Regions from separate parts of the Homo sapiens genome. Here region 1 is linked to region 2. The links are contacts of gene promoters, found by promoter capture Hi-C in human tissues and cell types (Jung and others, 2019). All regions are on one chromosome and are shown on one strand. Each heading gives the region's core, a stretch centred on a gene start or on the middle of the fragment in contact. The rest is flanking DNA. Distances are from core to core; before and after follow the strand shown.

Region 1 (3,339 bases), core at 440-2,939, 370 kb before region 2:
AAAATACAAAAATTAGCCAGGGTGGTGGTGCACACTTATAGTCCCAGCTACATGGGAGGCTGAGGCACGAGAATCGCTTGAGCCCGGGAGGCTGAGGTTGCAGTGGGCCAAGATCTCACCACTGTAGTCCAGCCTGGGTGACAGAGCGAGATCCCATCTCAAAAAAAGAAAGAAATGCAGAGGTTAATGATAGTATTATTTTATTCGTATATCCTATAATTTGAAATGAACTGTCCTTCATACACATAAACTCTTCTTCCACATTGGTGATGAATTTACAGTGAATGATTGATCATTCCTCTTTTACCTGGTCTTTCTTATAAAATTAATGGCATATACTAGGGGATCAATCAAAGGAGCTTCTAACCCCGTGTTTCTTCCTTCCCAGGGCCTACCTCATGCTGTCTCCTTACAAACACCAATTCAGTGTAGGACAAGGTAGGCTGGTTATGAAATAAAGTACAGTTAACCGTGTTATGTGGGAATTGAAATCATGACCTCATGTGCATAACACCTGCAATCAGCCAGTGAAGGCCTGATAAATCTTTGCATTTGTAAGAGTTAGCTAAACACTCAGCCTTTAGGAGTATGCTTTGGGAAGGGTTCCAAGAGTTGGACTGGTAAATATTCTACCTCTTTATTCACTGCCAAATTTCTAAGCTTTATACTCAGTTGTCAATTTTTTCTATTTTTAGTAGAGACGGGGTTTCACCGTGTTATCCAGGATAGTCTCGATCTCCTGACCTCATGATCTGCCCGCCTCAGCCTCCCAAAGTGCTGGGATTACAGGCGTGAGCCACCGCGCCCAGCCAAAAGTCTGTGTTTCTTTTGGGTAAAATTACTTTCAGAAAGTATTAGCTCCCTATAGTCAGCTTAAAGGATTCCTGGAATGACATGGCTAAACATGTATCAATTCCCTGGCTAATTTCCTTCAAGACAATACAAGATTATATCACACTGCTTGCTTCAGCCTGGAGTTCTTCCTATCTAAAAATAAGAATGTATCTTTCACATGAAAGAAACCCTAAGCTTTGAAAGAAACCTTGGTTTCACTTGTTACATGAAACTCCTGTGTGTGTACAATCTACTATATTTGTCCTAACTGTGTCATGGTTTTAGGTGCCTCTAGGCATACCAGAAAGACATCTTGCTTGAATTACCAAGGTTCTGTGCTTTTAGGAGACACTGGATTAGGAGCAAGGCACCTCAAACAGACACTTCCTTCTCTCTCTGGGCACCGTCAAAACCTCCAGATAACCTGGCAACTGCAAATGAATTTCAAGCATTTGACAAAGTGGGGTTGAACATCACTTCACTCTGGTTTGCCGCGGAAGCCTTAATATTAAGGTATACTTTTTTAAAACTGTATTTTTCTGTATTCTGTATATAGAAACATTTTCTATTTCTCCATGTTTCCTATATTTCTTTTTTTTCTAGCTAAAGAATTTATTTCAACATTTGCAAAATACTATATCACAATTATTTACCTTTCTTTGTTTTCTGTATTTCTATCTTTCCATTCAGTTAATTTGTACCCCATTTTGGAAAGCAAGTTGGTAAATCAAAAGTCTTAAAATGCTCATAGCTTTCCTCCCAGTAAATCTATATCTGGGAATCTTTCCTAAACAAAGCATCCTAATCATCTAAAACAATGTTGCAGTATTATAATATTGAAAAGGACCAAAATGATCAACCATAGGATGCTTAGTTTTTAAAAAGCATGATTATATTTACAAAGAGTTTTGAATAACATTGGCAAATGTCTATTATTATATTTGCTAAAAAATTGAATACAAAATTATATTCTCTATGTAAACACAGTGTACACACTATAAGCACAGCCCTGACACATAAAAAACGTAATGCAAATATTTGTTAAATTCACTCATTTGAATGAATCACAGCTATGTTGAAAAAAAAGAATCCTGCCTAGAAAACAAAATTTACACATTCATATGGTTATCTCTGGACGACAAAACTAAGCATGATTTTGTTTATTTTAAGATTAGTATAATTACATTAACATTTTCATAACATGAAAAATAAAATTATCTTGAAAAAGAAATATGTTTATGAGCATATTCTAGGGAGTTCAACATACAAGAGAAATTCTACTATATATTGAGGCTTCCATTGTTTGATTAACTTTTTAAAAACATGGTCTAGAAGCCTAAACTTTTTCACCTAAAGCTGCATTTCAAATACTAGTTGAGATATGGAAATAAGACGCCTCACAACTTAGTTCTGAAATTATGTATCCTCATAATCATAGCTACCCTTTATTGATACCTAATTTACATCAGATGCCAAGATAAATGATATACCATTGAATTTAATTTTATTTTTATTTCATTCATTCATTTAATACATTTTGAAAGCAGCTGCTAGGTACAAGACACTTAGTATAAAGGTAGCAAAAAGTTTTTGCCATGAAGGAAGTTATTAGATTGGTGCAAAAGTAATTGTGGCCTTTGCCATTAAAAGTAATTGCAAAAACTGCAATTACTTTAGTGCTAACCCAGTATAAGGAGACCTGACCTTAATTAAATGAGGACACTAGTGTTTTGGATGTTGACCCACCCAAAACAATACTGTTACTAGAGCGTAAAAGAGGGACGATCACATCCAGGTGAGGGTCATAGGAAGGGCTAATGATTGAGCAGAAACTGTAGGATTAAAGCAAAGGCCCCTGGCCCTGGCCCACCAGGCTAGAGGGAGAAAGTGCAAGACCGGGACCCAGGCCAAGGCCACACACAAGGCCTGGCTCCTCTTCCGGAGACTGCTGGTCAGAAAATAATTTTCCCCAGGTGCCTGAAGTCTCGTAACGCAGATACTCTAGACATTTTCCGTTTTCTGATTTTATATATATATATATATACATACACACACAAACAAATATTTAAAATGGGCATGTGAAAATATGTGTTTGTGTATTTTCACATACCCATTTCATATATATATACATATATGAAATATATATTTCATGTATACATATATGTATATATGAATATATATCATGTATCATATATATCATATATACACATATATATGAAATGGGTATACATATATGAAATATATATTTCAAGTATACATATATGTATATATGAATATATATCATATATCATATATAATATCATCTATACACATATATATGAAATGGGTATGTGAAGATACACAAACATATATTTTCACATGCCCATTTTACTAAAAATATGGGGTTTTTTTTTTTACAATGTTTAATTCTATTCTAGTAATCCTTAAATTTTGATGTGTATTCTTGAATGGTTAAAAACATGACTTTTTTAAAAATAAAAATGATCTGTAGAAACCTGTTTCCAT
Region 2 (3,288 bases), core at 666-3,165:
TCATAGGTCACTGCAGCCTCAAACTCCTGGGCTCAAGCAATCCTCCCGCCTCAGCATCCCCAAGTGCTGCGTGTCTTTCAATTTTTGACTGGATGTCTCACATTTTGAATTTAATGTTGTTGAATCCTGGATTTTACTGTAGTCTTTCAGAGAGTTTTAGAATTTGTTCTTACAGGTAATTAGGTTACTTACAGAGCAGTTTGATCCTTTCAGGGCTTGTTTTAAGGCTTTTGAAGAATCTACAGTAGTTTATGTTCTGGGTCCTGCAGTCTACGGTTATTATATCTCACTAAGGCATGACACTTTCGTAACCACCCAAAAGGTTCATCTTGCCTACTGCCTAGACAGAGTCGATTTATCAAGACAGGGGAATTGCAATAAAGAGCAATTCATGCAGAGCTGGCAGTGCAGGAGACCTGAGTTTTATTAATCAAATCAGTCTCCCTGAGCATTTGGGGATCAGAGTTTTTAAGGATAATTGGGTGGGTGAGAAGCCAGTGAGATGGGAGTGGTGACTGGTTGGGTAGGAGATGAAATCATAGGGAGTCGATGCTGTCCTCTTGCACTGAGTCAGTTCCTCCCGTGGGGGACACAAAATCAGATGAGCTAGTTTATCCAAGATCAGGTGAGTCAGTTTATCAATCTGGGAGGTGCCAGCTGATCCATCAAGTGCAGGGCCTGCAAAATATCTCAAGCACTGATCTTAGATTTTACAATAGTGATATTATCCCCAGGAGCAATTTGGAGAGGGTTAGAATCTTGTAGCCTTCAGCTGCATGAGTCCTAAATCATAATTTCTAATCTTTCGGCTAATTTACTAGTCCTACAAAAGCAGTCTAGTCTCAAGAAGAGGGTTTATTTTGAGAAAGGGCTATCACCTTTGTTTTAAACTATAAGCTATACACTAAGTTCCTCCCAGTGTTAGTTTGGCCTACGCCTAGGAATGAATAAGGATAGCCTGGAGGTTAAAAGCAAGATGGAGTTGGTTAGGTCTGATCTCTTTCACTGTCTCAATGATAATTTTGCAATGGCAGTTTCACATCTGAGGTTTCTATTGCGTGTTCCATGGTATTCAATAATCTCTTCACTCTGGTTGCTGGGAGCTCAAATGATTCCCAGTTCTGTGTGACCTCTCACCATTGTTTGGTGTACTGCTCCCCAGTAATTGTTCTTTCCTGGCCTTGTGGAGTTTCACGTTTTTTATTCAGTTAAAGATTCAAGGTACTCCTAAGCAGATTTCTGAAGCTCTTTTTCCATGTAATTCCCTCCTCTCCAGAATTCTGCCCTACAAATTCCAACCGACTTGGCCTACCCCAATTTCGTCAACTCCAATCTCTGTCTTTTCAACCCAGGAGATCCTAGGTTTCCATATGATTTCCTTTCATCGCACCACAGACTGGAAATCGCCTCTGGGCAAAAGGGCAGGATGATATACGGCTCCTTTTATTTCTTTTCTCTCAGGTAAAACAGTCCACAGCTGTCCGTTGTCCAATGTCTGAATAGGTGTCTCCTATATTTTGTTCCGTTTTCTAATTGTTTATAGTGGGACACTAAGTCCCGACCCATTTTCTTTTCTTGCCCAGAGTGGAAGTTTTAGGAAACTCCTTATGGAAAATGTGAATTGTTTTATTATTTTTTATGGTCGAAAACATCTTTCTCTATGATATCTTCCCACTCACCCTACTTTTTTCCTTCTCAGGAAACACTGACGGGAACACACGTGCCGGTGCTACCCTCCAGTGACTGGACTAGATCCTTGCGCAACTTCAACCCGCGCTAGCTCCGCCTACGGCCGGCCACGCCCCGTCTTCTCACCGGCGCGCCTCCCTCTTGTTCGTCCTCCCTCCCCCTGTGGACTGCGGCGCTGGCGTTCCGCGCACGCCGGCTCACTGCGCCTGCCCGGCGTGTGGACGCCACACGCTCCCGGAAGTGGGAGGTGGCCGCTGGAGTTTGTGTGGCCGCCGCCGCGGGAACGCGAGCCCGGTAATTTTTCAACGGAGAAAGGCGAGGCTTTCGGGCTCTGCAGAGTGAGAGTTAGCAAGTGTCCGGCTCCAGCAACTCTCCTCTGGCGTGACAGCCGGCATGGAGGATCCACAGAGTAAAGAGCCTGCCGGCGAGGCCGTGGCTCTCGCGCTGCTGGAGTCGCCGCGGCCGGAGGGCGGGGAGGAGCCGCCGCGTCCCAGTCCCGAGGTGAGGAGTCGACCCGCGCCTGGCTGTTGGCGCCAGCTGCCCCGTCCCCAAAGCGCCCTCGGCACCCCTTTCTTCTCAGGTGTCCCGCAGAAGGTGCAGCTGTGCGCCCTTGGACCCCAGCCTCTTCCTCGGTGCCCAGCTCCCTGGCTTTATCCTCGGGTGGGTGTCTTGGAGCCCCCTCAGGGCCGAATCACTCTCTGGGAGGGAGGAAATCGTCAAGACCAGTTCTGTCTACAGTGGGTTAACAGGTTCTAAGAGGGAGTTTTGCTTTAAACTTAATTCTGTGTTCACGGTTGCTGTTGTCACTCCATGTAGCCGTTATGGGTAGTTTGCAAGGCTTTATGTTTTTAAAATCTCACCATATACGCTAGGTATGTCACTTCATGCCTGTTTTTAAAAAAAGAAAAAATTTAAAAAGCACTCACCAGCATCCCTGTCTCTGTACCTGTTAAGTGGAGCTTCGTCTTAGCTGCTTTTGCTCATTAACTGGTGTCTCATATAACCATAGTATAAGATTGAATGAATCATTTTGACATCTCATCGGTTGAACTTAGTTACAGTGGCAAAGTTGTAGAACAGTCTTAAAACTTATTTAACGAATGTTAATTGTTGACTAGCGCTGCGGATTGTAAGTGATTGAATACTAAAATTGATCTTTTCCTAATAATAAACATGTTGAACACTTCGTAAAGCTTCATAAAGTGCGTATTTGCAAGAGGCCTCCTAACTCTTGCTCCTTCCGTCCACAGTCAGTTTCCATCTGGCAGCTAGAATGAGCTTTTCAATAACATGAATTTGGCTTATTCCCCTCCTGAGTCACTTCCATTTGCTGCTCTGCGGGGTCGGGTGCCTGCCTCCCTTGGTAATTGCATCTCACACAGTTTTTTCCCTTTTGTTCCCAGTGCCCCTCGCTGCCTTGTGTTCTTTGACATTGGAAAGAAGGTCTCGTTAAGGATCTCTGTATGTTCCTTTTGCCCTGTGTGCACTTCCTTTGGATCCTTGCAATTATCTTTCTCCTTCTAAGGTTGTTATTTCAAAGAGTACTTGCACATCCCTTCTCTTGTAAAGAACCACTCTTCCACCTGCCTCCCTCTTCAG

What was found. Contacts are between HindIII fragments. The study calls those that stand out against the background at their distance.
Region 1: a contact is called between a fragment that was not itself captured here and the fragment with the promoter of ERI1 in region 2, in 2 of the 25 tissues and cell types used here (lymphoblastoid cells and mesenchymal stem cells).

The regions. Positions count from the first base shown.
Region 1 is chr8:8,631,024-8,634,362 of GRCh38, forward strand. No RefSeq gene overlaps it. Among named protein-coding and RNA genes, the nearest start is that of CLDN23, 69 kb to the right of the region's middle. RefSeq lists an enhancer at 804-943. The HindIII fragment of the contact is 7,577 bases long and covers 1-3,339 here.
Region 2 is chr8:9,000,982-9,004,269 of GRCh38, forward strand. It overlaps ERI1 (exoribonuclease 1), which reads left to right and starts at 1,916. Exons shown (of 7, transcript NM_153332.4): 1 at 1,916-2,190. The coding sequence starts at 2,083. It overlaps LOC105379227 (a long non-coding RNA gene), which reads right to left and starts at 1,761. Exons shown (of 3, transcript XR_002956680.2): 1 at 1,680-1,761. The HindIII fragment of the contact is 7,447 bases long and covers 1-3,288 here.